7 separate regions of the Homo sapiens genome follow, and regions 1, 3, 4, 5, 6 and 7 are each linked to region 2. Evidence: promoter capture Hi-C in 16 types of primary human blood cells and fetal thymus (Javierre and others, 2016). All regions are on one chromosome and are shown on one strand. The core of a region is centred on a gene start or on the middle of the fragment in contact, and the rest is flanking DNA. Distances in the headings are between cores, read along the strand shown.

Evidence for each region. Contacts are between HindIII fragments. The CHiCAGO score rates a contact against its expected background, and 5 or more counts as called.
Region 1: a fragment that was not itself captured here is called in contact with the fragment with the promoter of STK32B in region 2 in 5 of 17 cell types (M2 macrophages, M0 macrophages, M1 macrophages and 2 more); the score reaches 15.9 in M2 macrophages.
Region 3: a fragment that was not itself captured here is called in contact with the fragment with the promoter of STK32B in region 2 in 3 of 17 cell types (M2 macrophages, M1 macrophages and M0 macrophages); the score reaches 7.1 in M2 macrophages.
Region 4: a contact is called between a fragment that was not itself captured here and the fragment with the promoter of STK32B in region 2, in 7 of 17 cell types (M2 macrophages, megakaryocytes, M0 macrophages and 4 more). The highest score is 19.7, in M2 macrophages.
Region 5: a fragment that was not itself captured here is called in contact with the fragment with the promoter of STK32B in region 2 in 5 of 17 cell types (M2 macrophages, M1 macrophages, M0 macrophages and 2 more); the score reaches 7.2 in M2 macrophages.
Region 6: a contact is called between a fragment that was not itself captured here and the fragment with the promoter of STK32B in region 2, in 2 of 17 cell types (M0 macrophages and M2 macrophages). The highest score is 6.2, in M0 macrophages.
Region 7: a contact is called between a fragment that was not itself captured here and the fragment with the promoter of STK32B in region 2, in 1 of 17 cell types (M1 macrophages). The highest score is 5.6, in M1 macrophages.

The regions. Positions count from the first base shown.
Region 1 is chr4:5,780,810-5,783,509 of GRCh38, reverse strand. The region is part of intron 11 of EVC (EvC ciliary complex subunit 1); the gene reads right to left. Among named protein-coding and RNA genes, the nearest start is that of EVC, 71 kb to the right of the region's middle. The HindIII fragment of the contact is 1,426 bases long and covers 538-1,963 here.
Region 2 is chr4:5,050,145-5,053,021 of GRCh38, reverse strand. STK32B (serine/threonine kinase 32B) reads right to left here and starts at 1,542. Exons shown (of 12, transcript NM_018401.3): 1 at 1,107-1,542. The coding sequence starts at 1,158. RefSeq lists an enhancer at 302-840. The HindIII fragment of the contact is 3,285 bases long and covers 330-2,877 here.
Region 3 is chr4:5,750,687-5,753,386 of GRCh38, reverse strand. EVC (EvC ciliary complex subunit 1) reads right to left here. Exons shown (of 21, transcript NM_153717.3): 9 at 335-551. Among named protein-coding and RNA genes, the nearest start is that of EVC, 41 kb to the right of the region's middle. RefSeq lists an enhancer at 1-443. The HindIII fragment of the contact is 3,697 bases long and covers 1-2,700 here.
Region 4 is chr4:5,810,617-5,813,316 of GRCh38, reverse strand. EVC (EvC ciliary complex subunit 1) reads right to left here. Exons shown (of 21, transcript NM_153717.3): 21 at 1-2,364. The coding sequence ends at 2,280. Among named protein-coding and RNA genes, the nearest start is that of CRMP1, 81 kb to the left of the region's middle. RefSeq lists an enhancer at 286-335. The HindIII fragment of the contact is 405 bases long and covers 1,248-1,652 here.
Region 5 is chr4:5,715,987-5,718,686 of GRCh38, reverse strand. The region is part of intron 1 of EVC (EvC ciliary complex subunit 1); the gene reads right to left. Among named protein-coding and RNA genes, the nearest start is that of EVC, 6.1 kb to the right of the region's middle. The HindIII fragment of the contact is 1,981 bases long and covers 305-2,285 here.
Region 6 is chr4:5,835,925-5,838,707 of GRCh38, reverse strand. CRMP1 (collapsin response mediator protein 1) reads left to right here. Exons shown (of 14, transcript NM_001014809.3): 10 at 1,802-1,943; 11 at 2,623-2,783. Among named protein-coding and RNA genes, the nearest start is that of CRMP1, 56 kb to the left of the region's middle. The HindIII fragment of the contact is 3,228 bases long and covers 1-2,783 here.
Region 7 is chr4:5,733,746-5,736,445 of GRCh38, reverse strand. All of the region lies in intron 5 of EVC (EvC ciliary complex subunit 1), which reads right to left. Among named protein-coding and RNA genes, the nearest start is that of EVC, 24 kb to the right of the region's middle. The HindIII fragment of the contact is 931 bases long and covers 813-1,743 here.

The DNA.
Region 1 (2,700 bases), core at 1-2,500, 730 kb before region 2:
ACCCTGTGTGGGGCCTGAGCTGCTCTCTGCCTCTCCTCCACAAGCCTCCCACAAGACACAAGGAGATCCACAGACAGGAACTCTCAAGTCACACGTATGCAAGCATGCATAGACACACATACAAGTAACTCCCCCACATGCACACACACTTGTACACACAGACAAGTAACTCCCCCACATGCACACACACTTGTACACACAGACACATGCACATGTACTCATACACATATGCATGCAGACACAGGCACATATACACACATGCACACACACAGGAACACATGCACACTTTCGTTCACATTTGATCCATGCACACACTCCTACATACATCCATGCATAGACAAGTGCACACATACACACATGAATCACACATAGACTCATACATACTTGCACACATAGACACACTCCTACACACACACACACGCACACACGCACAGCCTTGGGATGCACCCGTCACCTTAGAGCCCTCTCAACCCCACTCAGCCAAGCTTCACACCTGCTCTCCTCGCCAACCTTCACATCTGCTCTCCTTGCCAAGCTTCACACCTGCTCTCCTCCCACAGTGAGCTCTCTAACTCTGGCATCTCCTCAAAACCATCATTAGGGCCTCCCCTGGGTCACCATCTAGATTATTTTCACAATCCCCACTGGTCTCTTTGTCTTCCCTTCCACCCTCCATGCTTAAGTGAGTTATTTTCATAAACTTCACGTCTTATCATGAGTCCTCCTCAAATAACGTGGAAGACCTCTGTTCCCCTCACACTCAAGATCACCCAGCAGGGCTTCCAGGCAGCTCAGAGATGGCTCCGGCTGTCCTGCCTCTTGTCTTATCATTCTGTTGCCTTCATCCCCGCTCCCCCACCCCAATATCTTTCTAAAAATCATGAAAAACAAACCCACACCATAATAATAATATTAAACACCTGTGAATCCACCGCTCACATCTTTTTTTTTTTTTTTTTTTTTTTTTTTTTTTCATTTAAAACATGGAAGCGGGAGGCTGAGGCAGGAGAATGGCGTGAACCTGGGAGGTGGAGCTTGCTGTGAGCCGAGATTGCGCCACTGCACTCCAGCCTGGGCGACAGAGAGACTCCGTCTCAAAAAAAAAAAAAAAAAAAAAAAATGGAACCTTACAGATAGCTGCGCATGGTGGCTCACGCTTGTAATCCCAGCACTTTGGGAGGCTGAGGTGGGTAGATCACCTGAGGTTGGGAGTTGGAGACCAGCCTGGCCAACACGGTGAAACCCTGTCTCTACTAAAAAATATAAAAATTAGCCGGGCGTGGTGGCGCACGTCTGTAATCCCAGCTACTTGGGAGGCTGAGGCAGGAGAATCACTTGAAGCTGGTCCAGGTTGCAGTGGGCTGAGATTGTGTCACTGCACTCCAACTTGGGTGACAGAGAGAGACTCCATCTCAAAAAATATAAAAACAAACAAAAACAAAAAACATGGAACTTTACAGGTCAAGTTGGAATTCTTTATGGCTCCCTGCAATCCTTTTCCCTCCCTCTCAGCCTCAGACAGCCATCCCCATGAATGCAGTGACCCTCTCTCCAGTTTACAGGTCTCTACTTTCCCTGCATATCATGTTCATAAAGGTGGCTTTTGGTGTTTGTGTTCATTCACCCATAAATGGCATCTCATTGCATGTTTCATTGTGCAGATGCTTTTTGTTTTGTTTTGAGACAGGATCTCCCTCTGTCGCCCAGGCTGGAGTTCAGGGGCGTGATCACACCCTCGACTTCCTGGACTCAGGTGACCCTCTCACCTCAGCCTCCCAAATAGCTGGGACTATAGAGTGTATGCCACTATGCCTGGCTAATTTTTTATATTTTTTTGTGGAGATGAGGTTTTGCTGTGTTGCTCAAGCTGCTCTCGAACTCCTGAGCTCAAATGATCTGCCTGCCTTGACCTCCCAAAGTGCTGGGATTACAGGTGTGGGCCACCGCGCCCAGCCCAGAAGCTTTTTAAAGCCACTCCTTTTGCCCCATCTCCAATCACTTTTACACCCAGAATGGACTCCTCGCCCTGAAAAATCCCTCCAAAATAATCCCTTCTCTGGAGCCTCCCCTGGGCCACTAACATGGGCATTTCTGACCCCGAGCTCCCACCAGCTGTTTGGTTAGCCTACCAGGGTATCTAAGCCACAGTTTATCTGTCATTCCCCTAGACCACAGCTCCCTGAGATAGCGGCTTTGTCGCGCTAGGGTCTGCACCCACATCTCATATCCTCCCCAACCAAGCACGTGCTGGCAGTCCCTGAATAAGCCATGCCCCAACACAACTAGAGCACCCACATTCCCCTCTGCCCAGGAACTCTCCTCACATGTTCCAAAAATCAATTCGAGGTCTCCTTTTCTGGCAAGGCACTCTGAACACAGGGTCTCATTAGGTGCAATGTGGCTTAGCTGAACATCTGCTTTCCTTCCTGGAGTCTGGACTCTTGGTACGTGACAGGAAGGAGATGTGCCCGTATGACTGATCCCAACAGAATCCCTGGACTCTAAGCTCAAGATAGCTTCCTGGTAGACAACATTTCACACATGCTGCCACAACTCATGTGAATTAAGTGCATCCTGTGTGACTCCATGGGGAGAGGATTCTGGAAACTTGTGCCTGGTTTCCTCTGGATTTTACGCCTTGTAGCTTTTCCCTTTGCTGATTTTGCTTTGAATCCTTTCACTGCAGTAACTCTTAGCCAT
Region 2 (2,877 bases), core at 293-2,792:
TGATGACAGGCACAGCTTTCAAAGCAGACTGTCCTGCCTCAAGCCCAGCTCTACTTCTTACCAGCAGTAACCAGGACAGACCCCTTTCTAAGGTAGCCACCTCAAGGGGCATGAAAAGGATGGAGTGAACACTATGTGCTAGCATGGCTGGAACATAGTAAGTGCTCAGTATGTCTCAGCTCTTACCTGGGGCACAGTGGAGACTGGCGAGTCAGCACAGTAGGAAACCAGCTTTGAGAGGCAGAGGGCTCTTAACATAAAAAACGGCACAGCTCGGTACTGCTTGCATTTATAAGGCACTTTTCACGTGGATTACTAGTGGTTAAGCTTCAAACAACCCTATAAAGTAGCTAGTGGTATCATAACTCACATTTCATTGATGAAGGGACTAATGTTTCAGAGAGGTGAAGTAAGTTTTCCAGGGACACGCTGCACTGGAAAGAGGGTTCTGCTAGTCCAAATAGGGAGCTCTATCGACCTGAACCGCAAGGATCCAGCCAGGAAGTTGAGATGCGGTTGGACAGCCTACACCACTTCTGCGCCAGGGGGAGGCTGCCCAGAACAGGACGCCCTCCTAGGAACCACAGAGTTTAGCAAAGAAAAGTTTCCCTCTGTCCTGGGTGATTGAGGAGAGCTGCATCCAACAGGCCCTTGCACGAGACCAAATGCGTCGTGGGCACGCGCACACACACACAGACACACGGTGCAACCCGCCCTTCCAGGCCACCTCCGTCAGCCTCAGGCTCTCAAGGAAACCTCGGTTTCCTGGGGAGCCCGAGCCTAGAACCATCCCGACTGGCCTCCGAAGTCAACTCCTCCCTTCCACACCCCCAAGTGCAGGTTTCGGGTTCAACTCTCTGAAGCCGCCTCCCCAGTCCCGCGCTAGGCACCGTCCCGACTACTAAACGGCACTGGGTACCTAGGAGTTGCCTCAGCAGAAGCGCCGCGCCTGGCACGGGTCGGGCACACACTGCATTCGCTGGGCGAAGTGGCCATGCCTGGGTCCCCGCGCCGGGCAGCATGCGGTGCCCCGCAGGGCTCGGCCGAGGGTGGTGGAGGAAGGGGATGCCCCGCGAAGCGGGAATTCGCACCTCTCGCTCTCTTACCTTCCTCATTCTCGTCAAACACGGGGGGCTTGTGGGAGTGGTTCCCGCCCATATTCCGCCGTTGCTGCCGCTGCTACATGCCCGGCCGCTGGGATGCCGGATGCGGGATGTGGGACGCGCGCAGAGATGCGGGATGCCGGGGGCGCGCCCAGTCCGGGTTGTAGCCGCGCGCGGAGCCCGAGGGGGCCGAGCACCGTGCAGGGGCGGGGACGGCGTCCCCCTTCTCCTGGACGCCCTTCCGACTGCGCTCGCAGGGACCCCGCTCTCGCCGCGCCTTCCGCCGTGCCCCGCCTCGGGCTGCGCTCGCAGCTCCTTACTCCAGTGCCCGCCCGGGAACCCGGGAGCTCCTCGCGCCGGGGCCAACGTGCGGCGCTCCTCGCCGGCTACAGCGGGCGGGAGACGCGAGGCGGCGCGGGAGCAGGGGAAGGAGGGGAAGGAGCGGGGGAGGAGGGGACGGACGAAGGCAGCACGCAGTGGGCGGCGGCAGGGCGGAAGGAGCTGAGAAAGGGATCGGCCCGGAAGAATCTGAATCCCTGCTCGGCCCTCCTCCCTCGGCCGGGAGCTCGGTCCCTGCAGGCAGTAAGCGGTTTGTCAGCACCCACTATGGCCAGGCCTCGGCTACGCGCTTTGTTAGCACCATCCCACATCCGCCTCCGACAACCCAGCAGTAAGAAAGCATCGTTCATATTTTAGAGCGCAGTAGACGGAGGTCTAGAGGTAGAGGGGCTCTTAGGTCTGTGGTTAGTCGGCCCCGGCTGCGAAGGGAGTCCCAGGACTCCCCGCTAGCCTGTATTTGCCCATTCATATTGGGATGGGCAGTGGAGTGTCTGCTGGCTCTCCAACCGACGCTGTTCCTCTTAAGGTTTTTCTCAGTGTTTAATGAATGAAAGTATCTGTTTACTTTCTGACCCCTTAAGATTAGATACTAATCTGACCCCTTCATTGTACATGGGGAAACTGAGGCCCCAGACAGCCATAGTTTGCCCCAAACCATTCTCCCTGGGAATGGCTGGGCATGAGTCTCGGGATTCCCCCAAAATTGGGCGGCATCGGCGTCCGATTTAGGGGCGAGGCTAGCATGAGGGTCCCTGGGCTCCTGCGGCGGGAGCCTGGATCGGGAGATACGCGCCACAGTTGCGGGTGCCTAAGTAAGGGGTGCGGCAGATGCGCCCCAAGACGTGTGGGGCGAGCGCGGGTTCCCAGGACGCTCCCTGAGGGACAGGCAGGTCCCCCTGCCTTGCAGTCCTGCGGGCCCAGCTCTCCGGGACTGCAGGGAATCTTTGGCTACATCCTGCCATCTGCTGGGCGCCTGGAACCACTGTCCGTGCTTTGATAGAAAGCAGGGGTTCTTTGTGACTCTCTCCATCCTATCTCGTCCCCCAGTCCCCGTCCCCTACCTGGTCTCTCTCTCCAGTTCTCTCCCCTTCTTTCTTTTTCTTGGGAGAAGGGTGAGGGAAGCCGGGGAGACTCATACAGAAACAAAACAAAACAAAACAAAACAAAAAATCTCTTAAAGGCAGTGGGAAAGAACTGAGAAGGTCTGAGGCAGGCCCACCCACCATGACCCAGAGCTGGCTCTACCATTTACTGGCAATGTGTCCCACTTTGGAGTTCTTATCTGCAAAGTGGGCTGATTGATATTAACTCCTTGGGTTGTCTGTGAGAATTATATCAGGTAATATTTATAAAAGCAGGCAACAGTGCCCGGCATATAATAAATGATGAATAAATATTTCTTGCCTTTCATTCCACCAACAAGCATACACTGAGT
Region 3 (2,700 bases), core at 104-2,603, 700 kb before region 2:
TTCTAGTGAGACCCTTCACCCTCCTCTGTCCCTCTGCAGTTCCTGGTGGCTTTGCTGCAGGACGTGGGGACTCAATCAGCCGGAATCCCTGGTGAGTGAGTGCAGCAGGTGACCCCTGCCCTGGGCAGTGGCCCTCATGGACTCTGCTGTACAGAGAAGGGAAGAGAGCCCCAGAGAGCAGCCCAGTGACCCAGTCCCTAGGGCAGAAGCAGAAAGGCAGCCTGTGCCCGGCATCATGGGCACACTGCCCCAGGCTGCCAGCCCTCTCACTGCACAGCCCCAGGGACCCAGAAGGCCAGTGTTGTGGACGGCGGCACCCATGCCCACGGCTCACCCCGGCTGAAGCGCTCTGCCTCCTGCCAGAAGGCCTTGTGCTGCTGCGTGAGCAGCTCCTCCTTCTGCCGCCCGGACAGCTTCCCCTCACCAGCCAGCAGCTCCAGGCCGTGGGAGATGGCAGCCAGCCGGCACCTGGTCTCCTCCTGGACTTGCAGCTTCAGAAACTCAATCACTTTTGCCATGTGCGCCCGCCCCATCGTCCTCTCCAGGGCGTCCTGCAAAAAGAAACACACAGGACCATAGCTGGGGTGTCCTGGGAACCACCAGGGCATGTTAATTAACAGCTGAGAAGAAGCCACCAGGGTCATTAACTAATGGCACTGCCTGGGAGAGCGGAGCTCAGAGGGATGAACTCCCCCTCTCCTTCATGAGCGAGATCTGCGTCTGCCCCCGAGGTGGGGATTAAGTGTCTCTCCTAGGGTGCGGGGAGGCTGACGCAGCTTAGCATGTAGGCACTTAGTCACCAGTAGCGCTCCCCAGAGGGCCACCCTCCTAGGAGGGAATCCAGATTTACAAACGGTCAAGGAGGAAAAGCCACCTGGCTTATAGTCATCTCCCCCGGCCAATCTGGCCCTGTGGCCCCCACAGGGCTGTGGAGGAAATGCAAAGTGCCAGCAGTTCCTGGCTTTTGTTAGAGCCCCAGAGAGCCTGACTGCTGAGGACGGCCGAGATTTTCAGGGGAATGATTGGCTTCCAACACGACTCCCCGCAGTCAGATTCTACAGAAGGCCCTCCCCAGCCCCACCTCATCATTTCAGGGACTCTCAGAAAAGACAGGGGGAAATGTCAACCGGAGGCAGCCAAGGGCCCTGCACACCTGAGAGCAGCTGCTTGTGGAATGAGAGTAAGGGGGAAAGGAGGAGCGGACGGCGGACGTTGGCATCTCCCTCGGCACAGACTCTGCACCCCCCACTCCCAGCCACGCCCAGCTCAGGCCTAGGCACCTCTGTGCTGGGCCGAGGCCACAGGCCAGTCCTGCTCCCCAGCCTCCCATCTCTGCCCCATGCTCTAACCCCACCTCACAGAACAGCGGACCTTTCAGAGATGCTGATGGTTCTGTCAGCCATGGCCCCAAACCCTCCTGTTGCTGCCCTGAGATCAAGTCCAGCACCCCAGGCATGGTGCAGGAAGTTCTGTGGGGCCCTGTCCTGCACACCTGCCTGGTCCCGGCTGCCCAGCCTCTGCACATGCGGGGCCTTCCTCCTGGAACACCCTCACTGCCTCCTCTCACTCCCCTGCCCAGCCAGGTCCTTCTATGTCCTCATGGGTTCTGTGGTCCTTCCCTGCTTGTCCCCACCCTCACTGGTCCCCTACTCTGTTCTCCACTGCCCCAGGGCTCCTGTCTTCGAGGAGGTGATTGTGAGGGGCAGTCCCAGCCTGGACTGAGAGCCCTTGAAGACAGGGGCCAGGCCTGAGTCGCCCACGTCCCCTTGACCAGCCATGGCCACACTGTGCGCTGAGCTGCACTGGCCTCTGTTCCCACAACACAAGACTAGGGCAAGAACATCCCCCAGCGATGGACAAGGACGGCGAGGCTCATTCCAGCAGCCCGTGAACCCTAGAGGGTGCAAGAGGATAAGCGGAGGTGCCAGGTGGGCCGCGGGAAGGGCGGCTCTGGCCACCTCTAAAGAGCATGTTGAGAACCCAACACAGGCTGGCTGGATTCGGCAGTGGTGGTGCAATCGATGTGCTTATATTGGAGGGAGGATGGAAGTGGAGAGAGTGGCGTGAGAAGAGGGATGTGGAATGGGGGAAGGGGGCCCTGATGTGCTCTGAGTGTGGCTGAGTCAACAGTGCCAGGCTCAGACTTGGCTCCCAGGACCTGAGCACAAGCTCCTCACCTGACCCTTGCCACACAGATTTGACATGAGGATTAAGTAAGTCAAAATACGTGAAGCATTGAGAACAACGGCCAGGGAACAGTGAGCCTCCCTGAGTGTCAGCTGTTTTCACCATTATCTACAGCCAGTCCCATCTGTCTTGGCAGCTGTTTTTTTTCCTGTGAGTCTCAAGAAACTGAATCTGATGACCGTCAGGGTCCCTTTGAAGGGCTCTTCCAGTTTTAATATTTACAGATGCACATTTCAGCTCCAAATGCCCAGGCCAGAAAGATGGGATGCCGCCCTGGGAATTCCAACTCTTCTGTGTTCTGAGATACGGAAGCCATCTTTTTTCCCTTTGGTGCCCGGTATGCAGGCATAGTGAATCCATCCCTCTTCTATACAAACATAGACTGTGTAGCCCTGTCCATGCATCATTACAGTAATTTTTTGCTGTCTATTTCTCCTGCTGACATGTGGCCTGCAGGACTCTAATGACTAACAAGTACTGAATGCTTCCTACGTGCCGGGCTCTGCTCTAAAA
Region 4 (2,700 bases), core at 201-2,700, 760 kb before region 2:
GGCAGGAAAATCGCTTGAACCCGGGAGATGGAGATTGCCATGAGCCGAGATCACGCCACTGCACTCCAGCCTGGGCAAAAGTGATTTCTATGCAAAGCAGGTTTTAAGAATATTGCACCAAGGAAGCCATAGCTTTGCACAACTCCATGGAATAACCAAGTTTTTTAGTGAACCACAAGAGGGAGCTGTTGGTTAACTTTGGAGAGCCCACTGGCTGATGGGTGAGGAACTGAAGGAAGCGCTCTGATGATTAAGTTTTGGCCACTGGGAAGGAGTCACTTGTTTCTAAGAGAGTCTATTTCAGGTTTTAAGAAATGAAAAGTCACAAATGACCCTGAAAATTCCTGAGATAGGGGCTCCCAGAGCCAGAGGGCTCACTAGGTTCTGGGGATTTTTGGACGTATCCACGGCTATGTCCTGGATTAGACCAGGGCAAGGCACCCTTTGACTCAGCACAGTGGGTGATAACCCCATGGACACGGGGCAGTGTCTGGAGACATCCTTGGTTGCCACGAATGGTGGGAGTGCTGGCATCTGGTGGGCAGAGACCAGGGACACTGGAACATCCTGTGATGCTCTGGGCAGCTCCTTCCCCTGAAGAATGATCTCGCCCGGTATGTTCACAGTGCTGAGGGTGACAGTCCCTAACCTCCATCAAAGGAGCAATTTTCCCTCCAGGTGGGAACGGCCTCTCCTGGCTGTGGTGAGAGGGGCTGGTCTGGAAGTTTCTCTCCAGGTGGGAAAGGCCTCTCCTGGCTGTGGTGTGAAGGGCTGGTCTGGAAGCTTCTCTCCAGGCAGGAACGGCCTCTCCTGGCTGTGGTGTGTGGGGCTGGTCTGAAAGTTTCTCTCCAGGCAGAAAAGGTCTCTCCTGGCTGTGGTGTGAGGAGCTGGCCTGAAGCTTCTCTCCAGGCGGGAAAGGCCTCTCCTGGCTGTGGTGTGAGGGGCTGGTCTGGAAGTTCCTCTCCCGGTGGGAAAGGCCTCTTCTGGCTGTAGTGAGAGGGCTGGTCTGGAAGTTTCTCTCCCGGTGGGAAAGGCCTCTCCTGGCTGTGGTGTGAGGGGCTGGTCTGGAAGTTTCTCTCCCGGTGGGAAAGGCCTCTCCTGGCGGTGGTGTGAGGGGCTGGTCTGGAAGTTTCTCTCCAGGTGAGAAAGGCCCCTCTTGGCTGTGGTATGAGGGGCTGGTCTGGAAGTTTCTCTCCAGGTGGGAAAGGCCTCTCCTGGCTGTGGTGTGAGGGGCTGGTCTGGAAGCTTCTCTCCAGGTGGTAAAGGCCTCTCCTGGCTGTGGTGAGAGGGGCTGGTCTGGAAGTTTCTGTCCAGGTGGGAAAGGCCTCTCCTGGCTGTGGTGTGTGAGAGGCTTGTCCGGAAGTTTCCAGGCGGGAAAGGCCTCTCCTGGCTGTAGTGAGAGGGCTGGTCTGGAAGTTTCTCTCCAGGCTGGAAAGGCTTCTCTTGGCTGTGGTGTGAGGGGCTGGTCTGGAAGTTTCTCTACCGGTGGGAAAGGCCTCTCCTGGCTGTGGTGAGAGGGGATGGTCTGGAAATTTCTCTCCAGGTGAGAAAGGCCCCTCTTGGCTGTGGTATGAGGGGCTGGTCTGGAAGTTTCTCTCCAGGTGGGAAAGGCCCCTCCTGGCTGTGGTGTGTGAAGGGCTGGTCTGGAAGCTTCTCTCCAGATGGGAAAGGCCTCTTCTGGGTGTGGTGAGAGGGCTGGTCTGGAAGTTTCTGGATGCTCTCAGCATCTATCAGGGAGAGCAGGTGCCCCCATGACATCTCTCTGCACGGGCAGGGTGTCTACTGTCCGGAAGAAGCCCCTCCCCAGGTGAAGTGAGGGTTGGGCCACACCCTCTTCCTCATATTCTAAGTGTCCTCAGAGAATACATTTCTGCAGGTGTCATTATGTATCTGTGTGTCCTCAGCCCCAGATGGGCCCAGACAGGCCTTTGGGCCAGGGATTCCAGAGTCTGCATCAGGGGTCCTTGGCCTGAGGCTCGGACCCCTCAAGACGTCCCTCCTTGGGGAGAAAGATCCATGAGGCATCGAGCCAGGGCTCCAAGCCAAATGAAATGCAAACTCACAGAGACGTGTTTCCAAGACGGGAATGCCTAATTTTCTCAGGTGATACTCATTTATGCTTTTAGGGCACATTTCTATTCTTTCTCTGTCCCTCTCAGAAGAGCCTAGAGATGCCGCTGTCCTCTCCGTCCTCGCTGCCTCTCAGCACTGCAGGAGGGAAGGTGGAATTCACACCCAGACCCAGGGCTTCAGGTCTTGTCCCACCGACTGGTCTTAAACTACAAGTTGCTTCTTCTCTTTAGCATCTTCTTTGAGTTCCCACTGTCCCCAGCTTCACTTTCTTGCTGACTCAGCCTTTTGCTGCTTAAAACAGAGAAGAAAGGCAGCCAGTTAGAACGCTGACTCCATGCCCATCATGATGCCATAACTTACCCAATCGGATTAAATGAAAATGCAGCCAAAGGTGATCAAAACAATTTTTACTTTGACATGGGTTGTTAAGAAACCAATAAAACCCGTTTCCCTCCTTGGGTAGGAGGTCATCCAAGTGCCATGACCACAGCCATCCCTGGTCAAAGAAGGGACTGCCCAACACTTCAGGCTGGATGCCAATGGGGTGTGGAGGTAGGTCAAGGCTCATCTGGCCAAATGAGACACAAACAGGAAGGGTAACAGCCATGTGGCACCCCTGGTATCATC
Region 5 (2,700 bases), core at 46-2,545, 670 kb before region 2:
TCATGGCGCTTTTACAGTTATTCACAAATACATGCAGAGCATGAACAATCTGAGTTGCCCAGCATGCACGTGCTCAGTTGAGATGGAACAAAGTAGCACTCTGCCTTCTTGTCTCTGCTCTCATGCTGTAAACAAACATCCTTTTCATACTCTAGTAGCACAGTTTTTGCATTTCTGTGCTTTTTCTCGGTGACTTTACTGTTTAAAATAACCACCAAACACAGTGCAGAAGTGCTGTCTAGTCTCCCGAAACACAAGAAAACTATGACATGCCCTCTGGAGAAATGGGTGTGTTACAGAAGCTTCATTCAGGTGTGAGTTACAGAGCTGATGTCTGTGAGTCCAATGTTAATAAATTAAAAATATCTATTAAATAAGATATCTTTAAACAGAAACATACATAAAACTATGCTATGTATTGACTGGTTAATGGAAATGTTGTGACCAGAGGCTTGTAGGAACCTAACCCTGTTTTCCCCCCAGGAACAACGGTTCAGTGTTCGCTAATGCTGTGTTCTCAGTGAGTTTACAGAACATAACTACCATGAATAAGGAGAGTAGACTATATTTAAAACTCTGTTATCCCAGACACTTCTCAACTTCCCCTTTAATCACTACCTGCTCATGAATATAATCTTTGCACTAAAGAAACATCACCAGTTTGTCACTGAGTTAATCAGCTACTATTATCGAGCATCTGCTTTGTGTCAGGCCTTGTTCTAGGTACTGGGAATAGAGTAACGAACAAAATACACAGCCTCTGCTTTTGTGGCATTGACATTGCAGTGAGAGAAGAAAGAGGCAAACAAATGAAAAAATACATAGCAATTCAGGGACAATCATGTCCTAGAGTAACAGTGGAGGGTGGGGGAATGAAGGATGATGGGAGACAAAGTCTCTTGGACAAAGCGGCATTTGAGAAGGAACTTAAAAGAAGTGAGGCCATGAGCCATTGAGATATCTCAGGGAGGAGCATTCTAGAGACAGAATAGCAAGTGCAAAGGCCTTGGAGGCAGGCCCATGCTGGGCATAGAGAGAAACCTGTGTAGATGCAGCAGTCTGTCGTGGGTCTTGGGGTGGATGATGAAGCCAGAGATTTGGGGGGTTGTTTACCAACCATAGCAGACCAGTACAAGGGTCCTGCAAAGAAGAACCCAGTCAGATAGTCCTACAGTAAAGACATTGAGGAAAAAATATATATATCCCACAGAGGGAGCATCAGCATCACTTGAAAATGTCTAGAGGGTCACTAGCCATTTGAGGACAGACTCTAATATGAAAGATAAAATCCAAAACAAACAAAAGGAAAAAGCAAGCAGGGAACGCACTACACAGGGAAAAAAAACTTTAAACAAATAAACAACTAAAATATTATCAGAGAGATCAGAGAAGGTATTCCATTCATAAAATAAGGACAGGATAGAACATTCTCAGAACAAAAAAATGACTCTTCAAAATTGAAAATATGAAAAACTCAATACAAGTATAAAGTTGAGAAACATCTCTCCAAAGATAATGTAAAAAAGACAAAGAGAATCGAAGTGAGAGAGAAAGACTAAGATTGGAAGCCCAATTCAACCTAAAAAAGTGATAGGAGTTCTTGGAAGAAGAAAACGTATAAAAGGAAAAGAATCATCAAAGAAATCAAGAAAATGATTCTCGATCAAAAGGACGTTCCAAATGCCTGGCACCGTGGATGACAAATGACTTTCACCAACACCATCGTGGTGCAATTTCATTTACTAGGAGCAAAGGTAAAGGTTCTTTAAGATTCTACAGAGGAACAAAAGGAAAAGAGGTTTCGTGTAAGGTATCAAGGATCAGAATAGAATCAGTTTTCTCAACAGCAACCATGGAAATTATGAGATGAAGCAGAGTCCCCCCTTTTTAAGGGCCTGCAAATCCCTTGCCCTAAGCCTGGAAATAAAGGAAAATCCTGACTTTCTTCAAGGGAAATTATCAACAACTTGATAAGCAAGAAGGTAATAGTCGCCTAAAACAATAGCCAAGGAAGTTAGAGTCAGGAGATGTTTGGTTTCCCTGCAGAAACTAAAGATAACATCTTAACATATGTCCCTGAGTTGTTTTTCAGAAACCTGGACCCCCATCCAATGGATCCACTCTGAGGATCCATGGCTGAGGTCCTCAGCTGCCCCTTATCTGAGATCTGAACTCTGAGCACCATTCTTTGTTCTAAAGCTCTTCCTGGGGAGCCCAGAGGAAGTCATGACCAGGAGCCTGAGCTAAGGTTCTTTTCTGCCGAACCTACATTTTAAAACAAAGCTTCTCTTCCTTCACAAAATTGCAAATCAGAAAATCTTTGAATCTACCTCTGACCTGCAAGCCTCCACTTCAAGATGTCTGGCCCTTTTAGGCCAAAACCAGTTGTCACCTTCATGTATTGATTTACAATTTTGCCTGTAACTTCTGCTTTCCTGAAATTTACCTCTACCTTTAAAAACCTCACCTGGAAGTCATCAGGGCAGTCAGGATTTGAGCATGAGCTGCCTAGTCCTCCTGGCTTGGTGCACTGTGAATAAACACCTCCCTTTTTACCACTATAAAACCTCAGTGTCGCTATCTGGTCTTACTGTGCCAGGTGAGTGGAACCCAGTTTGGTTCTACAACAGCTAGAAGACAATGGAGGCCGGGTACAGTAGCTCACGCCTGTAATCCCAGCACTCTGGGAGGCCGAGGCAG
Region 6 (2,783 bases), core at 234-2,733, 790 kb before region 2:
TGACTAGCGTAGCCAAGGGCTTACTCAACATCTGCAGTCCAATGTCTGGTGGGCAGCTCACGTTTACAAAGAACTGCAGATCTTCCCCCATAAAGCTGCTAGTCCCACAGTCTTGCCCATCTAAGAAAATGTCAGGAACACGGACCAGAGGCCCTAGAGTCTGACAACGCCTCACCTGTCTGCTGTGGCCATCCTGGCTCAGGCCACCATCATCCCTGGCTTCCGACCAAGACTTTCTATTTCCACACGGGCCCACCCCACCCTACCCATCACAGTCTGCTGTCAGACATTTAGAACCTAGATTAGATCAAGCACCCCTCTGCTTGGAACCAGTAAGTCCTCTGCCAGTGAAACCCAAGTCCCTGCAACATCCAACAAGGCAGAACTCAATCCGGTGCACACGCCCTGACCAACCTCCCTCCCTGGGCCTCCTCTGCCCTTGGCTCCCTCGGTCCAGTCCCAGCTTCATGCTGACCCTGAACCCCAGGCAGGACCCTGCCTCGGGGCCTTTACACTCATGGGAACCCCTGGCTAGTTCCCTCTTTCTTAGACGCCACATGGTTTGCTCTGTGACTTCCTTCAGATCTTTGCTAGAAGGCTCCTCAGTGACGTAATTTTCTGATTATCCTCCTGGAAATGGCATCTCCAGCCTGTCCCCAGCACGCCTCATCCCCACCTGCTTTGGTTGAATCCCTGACACTCACTCTAACAGCGCCCATGTGCCCCATTCGCCTCTGCTTATTGCCAGTCTCCCCCATCCCTCAGTATAGCTGACACATGCAGAAGCTCTCTCTTTCTGATCTTAGATGCAGTCCCCATTCCTTAAATTGTACCGGGCACATAGGAAGCATGCAACACAATTTTGTTGAATAAATGAGTGAAGAAAACTTCTAAATATACTCCTCTGCATCTAGGCAATTGCTAACATTTCCTGGGCCTCTGGATTGGAGGACAGCCTCACCTTCCTCACCTTGCATTTAGAACCACTAATAATGGTCCATTCATTTTTTATTTTATTTTATTTTATTTATTTTATTTTATTTTATTTTATTTTATTATTTTATTTTATTTTATTTTTTGAGACTGCGTTTTGCTCTTGTCGCCCAGGCTGGAGTGCAATGGTGCAATCTCGGTTCACTGCAACCTCCACCTCCTGGGTTCAAGCAATTCTCCTGCCTTAGCCTCCTGAGTAGCTGGGATTACAAGCGCCCACCACCACGCCTGGCTAATTTTTTTTTTTTTTTTTTAGTAGAGACAAGGTTTTGCCATGTTGGTCAGGCTGGTCCCGATCTCCTGACTTCAGGTGATCCACAGCCTCCCAAAGTGCTGGGATTACAGGTGTGAGCCACCACACTCAGCCTGGTCCATTCATTTTATTGTCTTAGGTGTTCAGCTCAGGGCACCTGATATATCAAAGAGTATTTGTTTTTAAAACACCAGGGGACAAAAGGGTAAATCCCAGTGAACTTGTGCCACTTTGCTGTAACCAATGAATAGTGTTTGTTCTGCAAGCACAGCACAAACACTCTGGCCAGCCCTTAAGCCAACTGCCTTATGTCAAGAAGACAAATGTCAGCACACATTACTCACTTTGTAACGTGCAAAGCATGAGGCCAGTGACATAAATGGGGCATCCCTGACTTGTGACACGTGCAGGCACACGCTAGAGAGTCTCTCTTACCCACTGGCTTCCTTATCTATTCATTCATTCACTGGCTGTGCTGCATGTACCTGTCTGAAGTCAGGATTTGCCTTCAAAATGAACTAGGGTCTGAACTCTACCTTGTTTTGTCCTTGCCAGTGGGGACTTGCAGGTCACAGGCAGCGGCCACTGTCCCTACAGCACTGCCCAGAAGGCGGTGGGCAAGGACAACTTTACCCTGATCCCCGAGGGTGTCAACGGGATAGAGGAGCGGATGACGGTCGTCTGGGACAAGGCGGTGGTAAGGCTGGATCTCTTCTCAGGAGCATTCTAGAAACACTCTACCTGCCCTGTGAAAGCCGATGCATTATGCACGCTGGGTTCTTAAAAGTTCCCTTCTTACATGGAGGCGGAAGCAGATATACTAGGAGGGCGCAGGAGGGAACGCATAACTTGAGAGATAGTAGCTCAAGTCCGGGAGAGGCCTCTGCATTTGTGGATGTCACCCTTGTCCTTTACATCTTAAGATTGAAAAATGTTTTGTTTTGTTTCTCAACCACGTCTTAGTTCCTGTGGAAATGGCTCTGTAACGCTGTGTGTGTGCATGTGCACACGTGTTAGGAGTTGGGATGTTGAGTGGGTAGAGAGAGAATTCCTGTTGCAGAGGAAGAGCTGGGTCTCACTCTGATCACTGACCTGAAACCAAAGGTTTTTAATCTTCTGTTAAACTGGGGCCTGGTGACATGGACAAGATGTCATAGTGGCTCTTGCGTCAACATACCTCTGTGCGGTTAATTAAATGTCCTCTCTGATGAGGCTGGGCCTTCTGGGGTTCTTGATGATGGCACGTTTTTAGCTGGGAGAGGAGAGAATTCCAAGCCTTGCAAGGCCTCAGCTGGCAGTCTTCCATTTGTGCCCAGCTGCCCCTCCTCCTGGCCCCATTATGAGATGCTCTTCTCATCTGTGGGTCTTGCCTGTAGGCTACTGGCAAAATGGATGAGAACCAGTTTGTCGCTGTCACCAGCACCAATGCAGCCAAGATCTTTAACCTGTACCCAAGGAAAGGGCGGATTGCCGTGGGCTCGGATGCCGACGTGGTCATCTGGGACCCCGACAAGTTGAAGACCATAACAGCCAAAAG
Region 7 (2,700 bases), core at 29-2,528, 680 kb before region 2:
TGCTGTGTGCTCCTCCCCCAGGGGTGGTTCTGATGTCACCATGGTGCAGTACCAAAACTGGGAAATTGCCACTGGTTGAATACTGCTGTCTACAGACCTTCTTCAGTTTTCACCCATCTTTATGCACATTTATGTGTGTGCATGTGTGTGTGTGTGTGTGTGTGTAGTTCTATGCAATTTTACCCCATGTATAGATTCACGTAAGTGCAGCCACAATCAAAGTAATATTCTAGCACCATGAGAACCCCCTAGTGCTGGTGCTCCCCTTTATTTAATCTTCCTCCATGCCCCCAATCTGTTCTCATCCTGGCCACTCTGTTTATAGAGGTTACACTCCAGCTTCTCCTGCCTCTTGGACAAGCCCAGAGCCAGTTTCTTCCTCCTCAGGGCCAGCCAGGGAGTTCTAAGCTTCTGGGATGCATGAGGGTCTCATGTGGTCTGAATAACTTCTGAACCCCAGCTCATCTCTACCAGGGAAACAGAGTATTTAAGTCTCCAGGCAGCACAGCTCCCAGCGGCTCACCAGGTTCTTACAGTCCCAGCACACGACGATAGAGTTATGCTCCCCAGAGCAGGAAGGACCCTGCTGGGAAGCAGCTCTTTCAGGGCGGTGCCAATCACACATGCAACACATTTCTCCTGAGCACCTTTAACATGCAGGGTGCAGGGCCACACCTGGGCATGCAGGGGCCTTTCACTCACACAGACCTTGTCCAGGTCTGATTCTGCCATCACCAGCTGTGTGACTTTGGGCAAGTGACTTAACCTCTCTGAACCTCAGGTTCCTCGTTAGTGAAGTGGCATGTAAAGCTTCAAAAAAGTAAAACATTTAAAGCACTGAGCCTACCAGAGTGTACGTGCAGAATAATCACTGCTGTGACCATGCCAGCCACACAGCTGTGATATGGAGCCCAGAGTTCTACCCACAGAACCCTCTCAAAGCAGGGCAGCTTGACTTCCCAGTAACTCCATATAGCAATAGCTGAAAGGATATTTTATTTAAGCCTTTCCTAAAGTGGCCCAGAGAGGTGAAGCAACTTACCCAAAGTCACACAGCTCCTAATTGTCAAAGGGTGGACTAGGGTCTAGGACTGTCCCTTAATCCAGTGCTCCTGGAACTTCCCTGGGTTTCCACCCACGAGACTCCCCACAGGGAAGCCTGACCATCTCCCCAGCTCTGCATTCCCTCAGGTGCCCCCTTCACACTCGCATGATGCTTTGTCACAGGCCTTTGCCATGCTGCCTGCCACCGTTTATTTTGTGACATCTGTTTACTGCCCTCCCCACTGCCCCAGAGAGTGGGCTCCACAAAGGCAGAGGCTGCCCCTGGGGTCTGACACAGTGCCTGGCAGTGTGCAGAGGCCACACCCCTGTGCTGGATGGTGAGTGATGCTGAACGCTCCCTCCAGGACTGTAAGCTGCTCCCTGTGGACACTCGCTGGCTGTGGGGCGAGGCCAGCCAGGACTACTCTGCTTGCCAACTGGACAGGCTCTGAGCCCAGAAACAACTGGTCCTCTCAGGAAGCATGGAGCCTTGGAGAAAACAGCCAGGGCCAGGTGTAGCTCACTGAGGAAAGCTGGACACAGGCTGCCTGGTGGCCCCCATCCAGGGACCTCCATGGGGCTGGGGATAGAGGGGGTGAAGGGCCATGCTCTAGTTCTTGAATTCTAGCATATTTACGGTTTCAAACATTGGCACCCGTTTATGAGGCCAGTCAGTCCTGCTCACACAGAGCCCAAGCTTCTTCCAGGCACATCCCCAGTGTGCTATTCTTGTTTTTTGTTTTTTGAGACAGGATGTCGCTGTGTTGCCCAGGTCGGAGTGCAGTGGTGTGATCACAGTTCACTGCAGCCTCCATCTCCTGGACTCAAGTGTTCCTCTCACCTCAGCCTCCTGAGTACCTAGGACTATAGGCACACACCACTGCACCAGGCTAAGTGTTTGTTTGTTTGTTTGTTTTTGTTTTTGGTAGAGATAGGGTTTTGCCATGTTGCCCAGGCTGGTCTCAAATTCCTGGGCTTAAGCAATCCTCCCACCTCAGCCTCCCAAACCCTGATATTATAGTCGTGAGCCACCATGCCTGGCCTCCAACGTGATGTTCTTGCTCTTCTCCAGTTTGTAAGAGTGCCCTGTAGACATATCTGTGTGTCTGTCCACCTGTTTCTAGCTCTCCTCTTTCTCTCATCTGCCTTCTCTCTGTAGGGTCTCATTCCTCATTCAGTAATTCAGAGAATGTGCCTTATGGAGAAATAACACTTTTTTTTAACCCCCGTCATCTTGATGCCTGAATAAACCCACCGGGGTTCTGCGGCTAAAGTGGGACTCCTCTCTCTGGCTTCCCATAGCTCAGGTCCGTGGCTGATTCAATCAGAGGCCAGGTGCATCTGGCAGAGACTAATGTTGTTTTCCCCACATCCACAGTTCTGAGTTCTTGTTCATTCAGTCAAGAGAACACGTGGCCCCATGAAAAGGTACTGAACTTCTCATCTCAGTGCCACTCCTGCAGCTTTATAACTTTGGGTAAATCCTCTGCCCTGTGCCTCAGTTTTCTCACCTGCAGAGTGGACATGATAATGACACCCGCCCCTCTGGGTTGTGCTGAGGTTTAAGTGTAATACTCCTGGGACCTCGTACATAGCAAGACTCAAGAAAATTCATGCTCATAAATATTCTTATCATTATTATCATTCCTTTAAACA